Regions from separate parts of the Homo sapiens genome. Here regions 2 and 3 are each linked to region 1. Evidence: promoter capture Hi-C in 16 types of primary human blood cells and fetal thymus (Javierre and others, 2016). All regions are on one chromosome and are shown on one strand. The core of a region is centred on a gene start or on the middle of the fragment in contact, and the rest is flanking DNA. Distances in the headings are between cores, read along the strand shown. Region 1 holds the start of DLL4 (delta like canonical Notch ligand 4). Region 2 overlaps NUSAP1 (nucleolar and spindle associated protein 1). Region 3 overlaps EXD1 (exonuclease 3'-5' domain containing 1).

Region 1 (4,178 bases), core at 1,175-3,674:
GTTGGCAATATTCCCCAGTCCAACCGGGCAGGCAGGACAAGTTGCCATCTGGCTGGCACACATAGTGGCCGAAGTGGTCATTGCGCTTCTTGCACAGGCGGGAGCAGTTGTCTCCATAGTAGTTGTCACTGCAGATGACCCGGTAAGAGTAGCGCAGCCTTGTGAGGGTGCTGGTTTGCTCATCCAATAACCAGTTCTGACCCACAGCTAGGGAGCCCTGGATGGCGATCTTGCTGATGAGTGCATCTGGTGGCAAGGCCTCTGAGGGGGCAGAGGGTCGGGTCAGGGAAGGGTCGCCAGTCCCCAAGGGTGCCAGTGACGGCTGGCCAATGTCCTTCTTGGCTGTGATGATGGTGATCAGCCAACCAATCAGCCCAGTTATCCAGATGACCCCCGCCTGCCAGCAAGAACAGGCCAGAGGGACCCAAAGCCCCGCTACGTAGCTGCCCTACGTGTGTGCATGTGCAGGGGGCCTGATAGTATTCAAAAAGGGGACAATAGAAGGATGTTAAGATATCCCAGGGTCTTGGAGGCAGATAGGGAGGGGAAAGAGGAAAAGAGGTCAAAATGGAAAAAAGAGAAAAAGAAAGAAAAGCTCCCCAGGCTAGAGAGGACCCTGGGAGCAGGGGGTCCTTTGGTGCCCATTCAGGGGTTCTGCCTCCAGAGGTGGGTAATGGTTTTCTTTTTTCCTTTTCAAAGTGAGAATTGTTGTGCTGCTGAAATATCCTTTTCCTCTGTGTCAGAACAACATCCCAAAGCCATTATTCCCTTTCCAAAGGAGCGGAATTCGCGAAAGGTGTAAAATACAGGAAGGGGCCCGTCAGCGGCGCTGGCAGCTTCAGCCTTTCTCACCGCCGTACTCCCCGCGTTCCCACGCCAAAAATAACCCGCAGGAAACGCAATTGTGCTCTGAGTCCAGGCAGCGAGCGGAATCCGAGCGTCCAGCGCGGGGCGCAGCTCCAGGCCAAGCTAAGCGTCCTGCCTCCCACCCCCAAGCCCGCACTTCCCCCGCCTAGAACAGATTAACTCTTTCGGCGCTGCGCCGTGTCGCCCCCCTGTGGTGGCGGAGCGAGCTACTCACCTGGCCGCAGGTCGTCTCCTGGCGCGTGCCAAGCTTCGATGATGAGCGAGAAGGTACCCTGGGAAAGGGGGTGGGGGGACGGAGAGATGGCGAGATGAGCAAGCGGGGAGAGGTGGGGGTGCCTTGCGGCAGCCTGTTTAATTAATCTAATTGCAGGATTCAGTTACTGCGCCCGGGTCAACATAACGGGGCTGTGCACAGTGTAGCGCTTGAGCAGGGAAGGCGAGAGGAGAACCCCCGGTAGAGGGAGGGTTGAGAGACGGGAGAGTGTAAGGGAGAGCCACTGGAGGAGGGGGTGGTAGGGTACCGCCCCAGAGTGGTAGGTAATGAAAATCGTGTCCCAAGAGCTGGGGACGGGAGGACATAAACTGGGAAGACGGAGACTGGTGAGAGCCTTTTCTGGGATCAGTCTCAGGAGAGAGTCGGGAAGAGCCAGGAAAGAATGCATCCTGGGCTTTTTGGGGGTGGGGGTGTGTGTACAAGGAAATCTGGGGAGGGGGCTTTGGTCCCAGGGCGCCTCCTCTCTCGGCTTCTGCGACCTCCCAGTGCGCCCAGGCTGTGCTCACCGGCCAGGTGAAATTGAAGGGCAGTTGGAGAGGGTTGCGCCCCCCGCCGCTACTGTCGTCCCGGACAGCGAAGGAGTTGGTGCCCAATACCGGCGTGGAGACGGTCCCGAAGGTGCAGGGTCCGGGCGAGACGACCGCCTGGAAGTGCTTAAGGCAGACGCGGAAGAAAGTCCGGCAGCCGGGCTCGCAAGGCCGCCCACTGGCCAGTACGCCGCGCTCGTTGATGAACTCCTGCAGCTGCAGCTGGAAGACGCCGGAGCCGGCCGCGCGCTATTGCACAGGGACCGAGGGAAGGAGGGAGGGGACCGGTCAGCTCAGCTGGTGCCCGGGGCTGAGGCCCAGAGCGCGGCAGAGGGGACGGAGAGGGCGCGGGACGTGTTACCTGCTGCCAAAGTGCCACCAGCAGCAGTAGCGCCCAGCCAGAGGCGCTCCGGGACGCTGCCGCCATCCCCTCGGGCGTCGCTCTCTCCACCCGCGGGCCCTCAATCTGGCTCTGTTCGCGACGCCGCTTTCCCGCGCGTCCGCCAGCCGGCGGGGTCCCTGAAAAGAGGCGCTCCTCTCGGGACGCTGCTCCCCTTTGGCCTTCTCGCTGGCTCCGCTGCAGCTGCCGCTGTAGGTAATCCAGGTGACTACGGCTGGGCGGCGACCGCGCCGAGGACGCGTCTTCTGTCTAATCCTGGGGCTGCAAGCGGGCTAGTGCCGGTGTACGCTGCACCAAGGCGGCTGGGGCTGCGGCTCTTGGCCTCGTGTTCCCGGCCTGCGCGCAGCGCCGCTACTGAAACCTGCGCGCTGGGGGCCTTCCTTATATATATTGGCTCCTCTCCTCGCCGCCTGTCACTCAGACTCATGGTCATTCTCCCCTCCCCTCCCGGCCTCTAGCTGCTACAGTCCCAGCGCCGCCCGGAGGGGGCCTCCGCCCCCGCCGCTCCCCCCTCCCCGTCAGCCAGTCGGGCGCAGGTCCCCGCCCCTCCGTGCCGCTCCCAACCTCTAGGTCCCCCAGCTCTGCGCGTGCCGAGGTGACCAGTCCTCCGTGATGGCGGGGTTAAGGGCTGAGACCCTGGCCGCCGGAGGATAGAGGGGTTGCCCGGTAATGGGGCAGGAGGTGAGTGGGTGGTTCGGGGATGGTCTTGGGGGCGGAGACACTAGGCAGTCCCTGTAGGCTGTGCATCCGCAGCAGGCGCTAGTTACCTAGTGTTCCAAAGCAGGTAAAAAGAACTTAAGCCCGGAATGCAAAAACCAGCGCTAGGGAAATCCGATCTCCTTTTCCTTCCTGGAGCTTCTGGAGCCCTTGTCTCAACGGCCCCCAACCTATGAGTGCCCACCCACCACGCGTCCCCAGCGCAGCAGGGAAGCCAGCAGAAGCGTTAACCTCTCTGTGGCCACTCTGAGCAAGGCTAGGGGCTAAGGGTCTAAGGCTCGGGGCCCTCTCTGTGCACCTGTTGGGCGTCTCCCTCTCTAGCTAAGGGGGGGCGTGCCCAGCGCGTGCCTTCTCCCTTCTGCCCCCTGCCAGGGCTTGGCGCGTGCCAGAGACCCAGACGCGCGGTCCCTGAGGTGGGGGAGGGCGGGGCGTGGTCCCGGAGGTAGGAGGGGGGCGCGTCCTCAGCTGTATGGTAATGAGGTTCTGGCCCCGCCTCCAGCGCGTCCCCTCACCTGAGTCCAGCTTCAGTTCCTGCGCCCACTGCCTCCCCCCACCCCAGCAGCCCCAAGCCCCCGGCCGCGCCCTGTCGCTCAGCTGGGGCAAGGAGGAACTCTCCTGACGCCAGAGTTGGCTCAGGCCACTGGAGAATCAAGGTGAGGGACTGAGGCCGGGTCGGCCCGGGTCCTCGCCTCATAAGGCGGGATGTGGGGTGGAACTGGAGGCTTGCGGAGCTGTTTGAGTTTCAGGCGGCTTCCCAAGTCTCGCCCGAGAGGGTCCCCTGGGTGGCCCCACTCCTCCAAGCGGCAGCAGCGCAGCTGCTTTCTCGGAACCCGGCGTGATCCCCGGAGACCGCAGACCGGGGAGGGCCGGCTTCTCCCAGTCTCAGGGGTGCCGGGGAGCTCTCTCTTTGCGACGCCGAGGGCAGCGGGGGCCCTGTGGCTTCAGCTGTCAGCCCGCCCGCGAGGTGATGGCTGTAGTCGGGCGGTAAGATCAGCGCGGGGGGGGAGCCGGGACGCGGCGCGAACCCGGGGGAGGCGGTAAGGGTGGGGGAGCGGCGAGAAGCCCAACAGCTGCCAATGCCGAGCATGGTCTGATTTTTTTTTTTGAGTTGGGTGGTGGTGGTGGAGGACTGGGGGACGGGTGTGGTGGGGGGGGGAAGGATGAGAAACAAGAGGTTGGGAGCGTGGGTTGGGGGAGGGGCGAGGTGAGGAGACGGGCTCCGGGGTCCCCCACGCACGGCCACCCCTCCCAGCCACCATCTGGCGCGAGCGGGTTGGCGTGGGGAACCGAGGTGGGGCGGGGCGGCAGATGGGCCCAGGCTGCGCTCGGGAGTTAATGTAGGTTATGGGCAGGCGGAGTCCCAGGCCCGAGGGAGGGGGAGTCCGGGGCGTGC
Region 2 (4,178 bases), core at 1,151-3,650, 430 kb before region 1:
CAAGATAATTTTGTATTTTTAGTAAAGATGGGGTTTCTCCATGTTGGTCAGGCTGGTCTCAAACCCCTGACCTCAGGTGATCCGCCTGCCTCAGCTTCCCAAAGTACTGGGATTACAGGTGTGAGCCACCACGCCCTGGCCTATTTTTTTTGTTTTTTGAGATGGAGTCTTGGTCTGTTGCCCAGGCTGGAGTGCAGTGGTGTGACCTCCATGCACTGCAACCTCCACCTCCTGGGTTCAAGCGATTCTCCTGTCTCAGCTTCCTGAGTAGCTGGGAGTACAGGCACCCACCACCATGGCCAGGTAATTTTTGTATTTTTAGTAGAGACAGGGTTTTGCCATGCTGGCAAGATCTGTCGAACCCGGGAGGTGCAGGTTGCAGTGAGCCAAGATCGCACCACTGCACTCCAGCCTGAGTGACACAGTGAGACTCATCGCAAAAAAAAAAAAAAAAAAAAGATGGATAAACAGTGCCTTCAAATGTGGTAACAGTGAGGACAGGAGTGGTGGCTCACGCCTGTAATCCCAGCACTTTGGGAGGCTGAGGTGGGTGGATCACCTGAAGTCAGGAGATCGAGACCAGCCTGGCCAACATGGTGAAACCCCATCTTTACTGAAAATATAAAAATTAGCAGGGGCTGGGCGCCGTGGCTTATGCCTGTGATCCCAGCACTTTGGGAGGCTGAGGCAGGTGGATCACAAGGTCAGGAGTTCAAGACTAGCCTGGCCAACATAGTGAAACCCCGTCTCTACTAAAAATACAAAAAATTAGCCAGGCGTGGTGGCAGGCACCTATAATCCCAGCTACTCAGGAGGCTGAGGCAGGAGAATTGCTTGAACCTGGGAGGTGGAAGTTGTGGTGAGCCAAGATCACGCCATTGCACTCCAGTCTGGGCAAGAAGAGTGAAACTGTGTCAAAACAAACAAACAAACAAACAAACAAAAATTAGCCGGGTGTGGTGGTGGTTGCCTGTAATCCCAGGTACTTGGGAGGCTGAGGTGGGAGAATCACTTGAATCCAGGAGGTGGAGGTTGCAATGAGCCAATATTGTGTCACTGCACTCCAGCCTGGGCAACACAATGTGACTCCATCTAAAAAAAATAAATAAAATTACAAATACAAATATTAGCTGGGTGTGGTGGTGGGCACCTGTAATCCCAACTACTTGGGAGGCTGAGGCAAAATAATCTGCTGCATCCGGGAAGCAGAGGTTCCAGTGAGGCAAGATCGCACCATTGCACTCCAGCCTGGGTGACAGAGTGAGACTGAGTCTCAAAAAAAAAAAAAGTTTGACAAACAGTGCCTTCAAATGTGGTAACAGTGAGGATGGGAGCAATGGCTCATGCATGTAATACCAGCACTTTGGGAGGTGGGTTGATCACCTGAGGTCAGGAGTTCAAGACCAGCCTGGCCAACATGGTGAAAACCCGTCTCTACTAAAAATAAAAAAATTAGCTGGGTGTGGTGGTGGGCGCCTGTAATCTCAGCTACTGGGGAGGCTAAAGGCAGGAAAATCACTTGAATCAGGGAGGCAGAGGTTGCAGTGAGCTGAGACTGTACCATTGCCCTCCAGTCTGGGCAACAAGAGCGAAACTCTGTCTCAAAAAAAAAAAAGAAAAGAAAAGAAAAAAAATGGTTGTAACAGTGGTTTTACATCGTTAAAATGAATGTTTATTATTTCAATTAAGCTTCTCACCAAGAAGCTTAAGTACTTAAATTATTTACAATTTATCACCCAGTGAGTTTTCCTCTTGGCCCTAGCTGCCAGAAAACTTAAACTCAGCTGAGTGACTGATGGTAGTAAATACTGTACCTACTAACAGTGCTAATTTTCTGCCGCTTTTAAATTGACTATACTATTTTATATTTAATACCATAAACTTACATTATTTTGAGAATAGGCCTTAAATTCTTTTTGAGAAATAGGGAAGTTATGTAAAATAAACATGGGGTTAAGAATTAAATACAGCGAATAGAAATAAATATAATCTGGTGGCTCACACCTGTAATCCCAGCACTTTGGGAGGCTGAGGTGGGAGGATCACTTGAGCCTAGGCGTTCAAGGAGAGCCTGGGAATCATAGGGAGACCCTGTCTTTATGAGAAAAATACATAAATCCATAAATATTTAAAAATGTGTTTCCTGCCCTCCATTCGGCACTGCCTTAACACCAGATACCAATAACATCAACTTGCTAGAATGTTACTCACTACTTTGCTAACTCAGCCTCAGAGTTGACTTTATCACCTTCTCTTACTTGAGGAGGCTTTGAGTCCTGTGGAACCTGGACTGAAAGCCCTCGAGGGAGCTGTTACCACAGGAACCCTTCAGGTTTGCCACTATTAATCACCCATTTTCCTTTACATAAGGGACGAGGGAAAGAAGATGGCTTCAGCCATAAGTTGGTTCATCATCAATGAAAGTAATAGGCAAAACATCTGAATATGGAAAGTAGAATGACATTGCCATTTTGGAAATAGTTTCTCATAGTCAGGATTCACTGTTTTCTTTTTTTTTGAGACGGAGTCTCACTCTGTCACCCAGGCTGGAGTGCAGTGGCGCGATCTCAGCTCACTGCAATGTTGGCCTCCTGGTTCAAGTGATTCTCCTGCCTCAGCCTCCTGAGTAGATGGGATTACAGCCATGTGCCACCCCCTACTAATTTTCTGTATTTTTTGTAGAGACAGGGTTTCACCATGTTGCCCAGGCTGGCCTTGAACTCCTGACCTGAGGTAATCCACTTGCCTTGGCCTCCCAAAGTGCGGGGATTACAGGCATGAGCCACTGCGCTTGGCCATGGATTCACTGTTTTATCTAGAGGACTTTGAAAATTCTCAGGGTAGGGGAAAGCAAGTTTTAGATAAAGATATATTAAATTCAAACAAATCTACTGGTAGAGTGACAGCCAGTTGTTGTAACCACGGTGTTATATAGTTTCAAAATTATAATCAAACAGTTTAGTTCCATTAAGAACATAATTTTATCTACATACCTTCAGTTCATTCATGGAATTGTGTTCTTCAAAATGTTTCTTTTTTCTCTCAATATATTGATCAATGGACTCCATTTCCTTAAAATGAGCTTCATGAAGCTTCTTAAAGTCTAGAATGTTCCAATATAAAAATTAATAACAAAACAAAATCCATTTATTTATCTTCTCTGTGTTTTTCTGTTAACACTTATTCTCTTCTTTGCATCCCTGACATTCAACTTCAATATAATTTTTGCTAAAACATTAATTTCAAAATACTTAGTTTTTGGAAACTCAGGGGCAAAGCACATTCATCTTATAAACTATCAAACATTCACCATCTCCCCACTGACAAATTTCACTAAATTGACATCTTGGTTTAATCCAGAGGATTAGAGTAGAAGATTTATCTTCTCCCCTACCAATTAGTCACAAGTGGTCTTTATTTAATAATGAATTTGATATTTTATAATGCTGTATGTCAAGGACTGACAAATTTATTCTATAAAGGGCTAGATAAAAGTATTTAAGACTTGGCTGGTCATGGTGGCTCAACACCTGTAATCTCAGCACTTTGGGAAGCCAAAGCGGTCAGATCACCTGAGGTCAGGAGTTCGAGACCAGCCTGACCAACATGGAGAAACCCCATCTCTACTAAAAATACAAAAATTAGCCAGGTGTGGTGGCGCACGCCTGTAATCCCAGCTACTCGGGACACTGAGGCAGGAGAATCGCTTGAACCCGGGAGGTGGAGGTTGCAGTGAGCCTAGATTGCGCCATTGCACTCCAGCCTGGGCAACAAGAGCAAAACTTCGTCTCAAAAAAAAAAAGTATTTTAGGCTTTATGGCCACATATGGTATGGTCTCTGTCTCATATTCTTCTTGTTTTTATGTTATTTATTTATTTATTTTGAGACGGAGTCTTGCTCTATTGCCCAGGCTACAGTGCAATGGCATGATCTTGGCTCACTGCAACCTCTGCCTCACAGGTTCAAGCGATTTTCCTGCCTCAGCTTCCCAAGTAGCTGGGGTTAAAGGCACCTGCCGCCACACCTGGCTAATGTTTGTATTTTCAGTAGAGATGGGGTTTCACCATGCTGGCCAGGCTGTTCTCAAACTCCCAACTTCAGGTGATCCAGCCCCCTGGGCCTCCCAAAGTGCTGGGATTACAGGTGTGAGAACCGCACCCGGCCATTCTTCTTGTTT
Region 3 (4,178 bases), core at 903-3,402, 280 kb before region 1:
TTTAAGAAATGAGGTCTTGTTGTGTTCCCCAAGCTGGTCTTGAACTCCTGGACTCAAGCAGTCTGTCTTCCTCGGCCTCCCAAAGTACTGGGATTACAGGCGTGAGCCACTGCGCCCAGCCTTAATTTTTGTATTTTGTGTAGAGACAATTTCTCACTATGTTGCCCTGGCTGGTCTCGAACTCCTGGGCTCAAGCAATCTGTCCTCCTCAGCCTCCTTCACTGCTAGGAATACAGGCATGAGCCACCCTGCCCAAACCTTTTGCTGTTTTTTAATTGAGTTGAAATAATTATTTTTATCATTGAGTTGTAAGTATTATTTATGTATCAACAGATTCTTTAAAGTGTCCGTGACAACAATAAAAAAAAAAATGAGGGTAAGAACTTGTGGCCAGGCGTGGTGGCTCAGTCTTGTAATACCAGCACTTTTGGAGGCCAAGGCAGGCAGATCACTTGAGCCCAGGAGTTACAGACCAGCCTGGGCAACAAGGCAAACCCACCCCTACAAAAAATACAAAAAATTAGCTGGGCATGGTGGCACAGGTCTGTAGTTTCAGCTACCCGGGAGGCTGAGATGAGAGGATCAGCTAAGCCCCGGAGGTCGAAGCTGCAGGAAGCTAAAGTAGGAGGATAGCTTGAGCCCAGGAGTTCATGCCACAGTGAGCTATGATCTGCACTCCAGCCTGGAGGACAGCATGAGACTGTCTCAAAAACAAAACAAAACAAAACAAAAAACAAAAAAAGAAGCTTTTGCTCTGGAAGTTTGAAGAGGTAATTAGGAATTCTCATCAGTAGAGAATGCAGCTTTTGTTGCCGGTTCTGCAGCCATCTGATTGGGAATGAAGCTGAAATTCAGTGCCATTTTCTCATCATTGATGAGAGATACTCAGAATTGAGAACACTTTATGCTCTCTAAAGGGAGATATGTTGCTAGTGTAAATTACTATGCCTTTCTGTTATTGAATAATTGAACTACCTATAAAATGGGGAGAATCTTTTATCATGCAAATATTTTTATGAATTATGGATTAAGGATTATAGAATTGTATAATGAAATAGGGTAAGATTATAGATAATCAAAGGACAAGAGTGTGTACCTGGGGTACCACTATTTCAGTGTTTTGTGTTTTTTTTTTTACACAGGCTGAAGTGCATCATCATGGCTCACTGCAGCCTCAGCCTCCCAGGCTCAAGTGATCCTCCCACTTTAGCCTCCTGAGTAGCTGGGGCTACACTGCAGGTGTGCACCACCATGCCTGGATAATTTTTTGTATTTTTTGTACAGACACTGTTTTGCCCAGTCTGGTCTGAAACCCTTGGGCTCAAACGATCCTCCTTCCTCAGCCTCCCAAAGTGCTGGGATTATAGGCATGAGCCACTGCGCCCAGCCACTATTTCAGTTTTGAGTAATTCAGTGAATCCGAGGCTTTAAGGGACCTGAAGAGTCCTTGTTTCTGTCTTTCTGAGCAGTGGATACTCTGAGACTTAGCCACCACCTATATTCCTTTCAGTTGTGGTAAATTGCCCTGTGTTAGGGCATGCCATAGTTTGCATGAGGAATCTTGTCTTAAAGATTATAATTCAGGGCCAGGCTTGGTAGCTCACACCTGTAATCCCAGCACTTTGGGAGGCCGAGGCAGGTAGATCACTTGAGGTCAGGAGTTTGAGACCAGCCTGACCAACATAGTGACACCCTGTCATTACTAAAAATACAAAATTAGCTGGGCGTGGTGGTGCATGCCTGTAATCCCAGCTACTTGGGAGGTTGAGGGAAGAGAATCACTTGATTCTCTTGATCCACTGAGAGGTGGAGGTTGCAAGTCAAGATCGTGCCATTGCACTCCAGCCTAGCAACAAGAGTGAAACTCTGTCTCAATTTAAAATATAAAAACAGATTATGATTCTTTCTCTGTAGCATCAGTGGTAACAAAAGGTGTCTGAGTTCTCAACTCTTATTGTCATTTGGGGTCTGAGTGATTTATTTTCCAGCTGTGGAACACTTTTGCTAAAACAAAAAAAAAGAATCAGAAGTATTCAGTGCTGATTTATTTGCATGTGTAAAACAGACTGTTTTGGATTAATCAAATTTTGTAAGTTTAACAAAGATGATGCACTTTGTTTACTGCTGACCATTGTATTTGTGCCAATCATGATGTTATCATGCCAACATTTATTCCCTGAAAGTTTTTCCTTTCCTTCTTTTTCTTACCAGATACTCCATATCAAGAAGCAGAATGTCCTGAGTGTGGCAGCAGAAGGAGCGAATGTATGTCGCCATGGCAAACTGTGCTGGCTGCAGGTGAAAGATTTTTGAAAACTTTTTATTTTGAAGTAATTATAGAGCCACTGGTAGATTTTTTTCTTTCCTTCTTTTTGAAAACTGTATTTTAGAGATGGGATCTCACTCTGTCACTGAGGCCACAGTGCAGATCATAGATCACTGCAGCATTGAACTCCTGGGCTCATGCTGTCTATCCTCACTTTAGCCTCCTGAGTAGCTGGGACTACAGATGCATGTCACCACACCCAGCTTTGTTTTTTTGAGATGGGGTCTTGCTGTGTTGCCCAGGCTGATCTCAAACTCCTGGCCTCATGTAATCCTCTTGCTTTAGCCCCCCTAGTCACTGGGATTACAGGGATAGGCCACTGCACCTGGCTCACTGGTAGATTTATTAATTGTCTTCTTTCTGTCACCCTAGTGTCATTGTTGCATAACTTGTTGGAATGTTCTTCCTTCTCCTGGTACTCACTTTATTCTTTTCAAAAGGAGAGAGCTTCTGTCTCCTTATAGATTCACTTTGTTTTTTTTTTTAAGCTCAGTAGCAAGAATAGGTTCGCTGTTAAAGCCATTAGTGCTGTCTCTCGGGCTCTGCTGGAGGTCTTTCCCAGTTCTGTTCTATCACCTTAGTTCTATGAAGAGTGTCGTCTCTTTTCATTCTGGGGTGGTAGCTTTCCACAGCAGGTTTCTCACCACATCATTTTAGTTTCCCTGGACCTGGGAGATATTAAATGAGAGTCTCTATTATTATTACTATTATTATTATTATTTTGAGACAAAGTCTTGCTCTGTCACCAGGCTGGGGTGCAGTGGTGCATCTCGGCTCGCTGCAACCTCCGCCTCCTGGGTTCAAGCGGTTCTCCTGCCTCAGCCTCCTGGGTAGCTGGGACTATAGGCATGCGCCACCACACCTGGCTAATTTTGTGTTTTTAGTAGAGACGGGGTTTCACCATGTTGGCCAGGCTGGTCACAAACTCCTGATCTCAAGTGATCCACCCACCTCGGCCTCCCAAAGTACTAGGATTACAGACGTGAGCCACCACCCCTGGCCAATATTTTTTAAAAGTTTGTAGTTAGCCTTGAAGAATAGCTAGAGGATGGATAGCTTTTGGGTCCCTCTTCCTTTACTTTTTTTTTTTTTTTTTTTTTTTTCAGAGATGAGTTCTCCCTATATTGTCCAGGCTGGTCTCAAACTCCTGGTCTCAAGCAATCCTTCTGAGTCAGCCTAACCGCAAAGTGCTGGGGTTACAGGCATGAGCCACTGCAGCTAGCCAAGCTTAGCTTTTAGATGACTAGGTTTGAATTAGCAGCACAAATACAAATTACTTAAAACAACCCTAAACTTCCATCTACCAAAACAAAAGAGAGTAGACTTCCTGGTAACACAGGTCTGGGCAGTTCTAGGTTATTTCCTAAATTGTCCCCTTTGGTTTTCTGGGTATCAGAGGAACATGCAGTTGTCTACAGCTGTCCTTTCTTTTTGTTTTCTCTCTTTCTTTTTTTTTTTTTTTGAGGCAGGGTCTCGCTCTGTTGCATGGGCTGGAGTGCAGTGACACAATCTTGGCTCACTACAACCGCCGCCTCCCAGGTTCAAGCAATTCTTATGCCTCAGCCTCCTGAGTAGCTGGGATTACAGGCATGAGCCAACATGCCTGGCTAATTTTTGTCTTTTTAGTAGAGATGGGGTTTCACCATGTTGGCCAGGCTTGTCTCGAATTCCTGGCCTCAGGTGATCTGCCCACCTCAACCTCCCAAAGTGCTGGGATCTGGACTACAGCTGTCCTTTCTGCAACTGGAAGCAAATTAATGGACAGGTTTTCCCCAGCCAGATCCTTGGGCTTGTGTGTTTAATTTTTTAACTAAAAGCATCACGTGCACTTGTATTAAAAGCAAAAGAAAAA

What was found. The method cuts DNA at HindIII sites, captures the fragments that hold promoters and counts their contacts. A CHiCAGO score of 5 or more calls a contact.
Region 2: a fragment that was not itself captured here is called in contact with the fragment with the promoter of DLL4 in region 1 in 1 of 17 cell types (endothelial precursors); the score reaches 5.3 in endothelial precursors.
Region 3: a fragment that was not itself captured here is called in contact with the fragment with the promoter of DLL4 in region 1 in 1 of 17 cell types (erythroblasts); the score reaches 5.4 in erythroblasts.

The regions. Positions count from the first base shown.
Region 1 is chr15:40,927,586-40,931,763 of GRCh38, reverse strand. It overlaps DLL4 (delta like canonical Notch ligand 4), which reads right to left and starts at 2,424. Exons shown (of 11, transcript NM_019074.4): 1 at 2,030-2,424; 2 at 1,648-1,917; 3 at 1,082-1,139; 4 at 1-261. The coding sequence starts at 2,095. RefSeq lists silencers at 2,530-2,619, 3,213-3,282. The HindIII fragment of the contact is 7,449 bases long and covers 1,117-4,178 here.
Region 2 is chr15:41,357,074-41,361,251 of GRCh38, reverse strand. NUSAP1 (nucleolar and spindle associated protein 1) reads right to left here. Exons shown (of 11, transcript NM_016359.5): 6 at 2,994-3,103. Among named protein-coding and RNA genes, the nearest start is that of NUSAP1, 26 kb to the right of the region's middle. The HindIII fragment of the contact is 1,388 bases long and covers 1,707-3,094 here.
Region 3 is chr15:41,207,621-41,211,798 of GRCh38, reverse strand. EXD1 (exonuclease 3'-5' domain containing 1) reads left to right here. Exons shown (of 12, transcript NM_001286441.2): 7 at 2,212-2,298. Among named protein-coding and RNA genes, the nearest start is that of EXD1, 21 kb to the left of the region's middle. The HindIII fragment of the contact is 2,807 bases long and covers 749-3,555 here.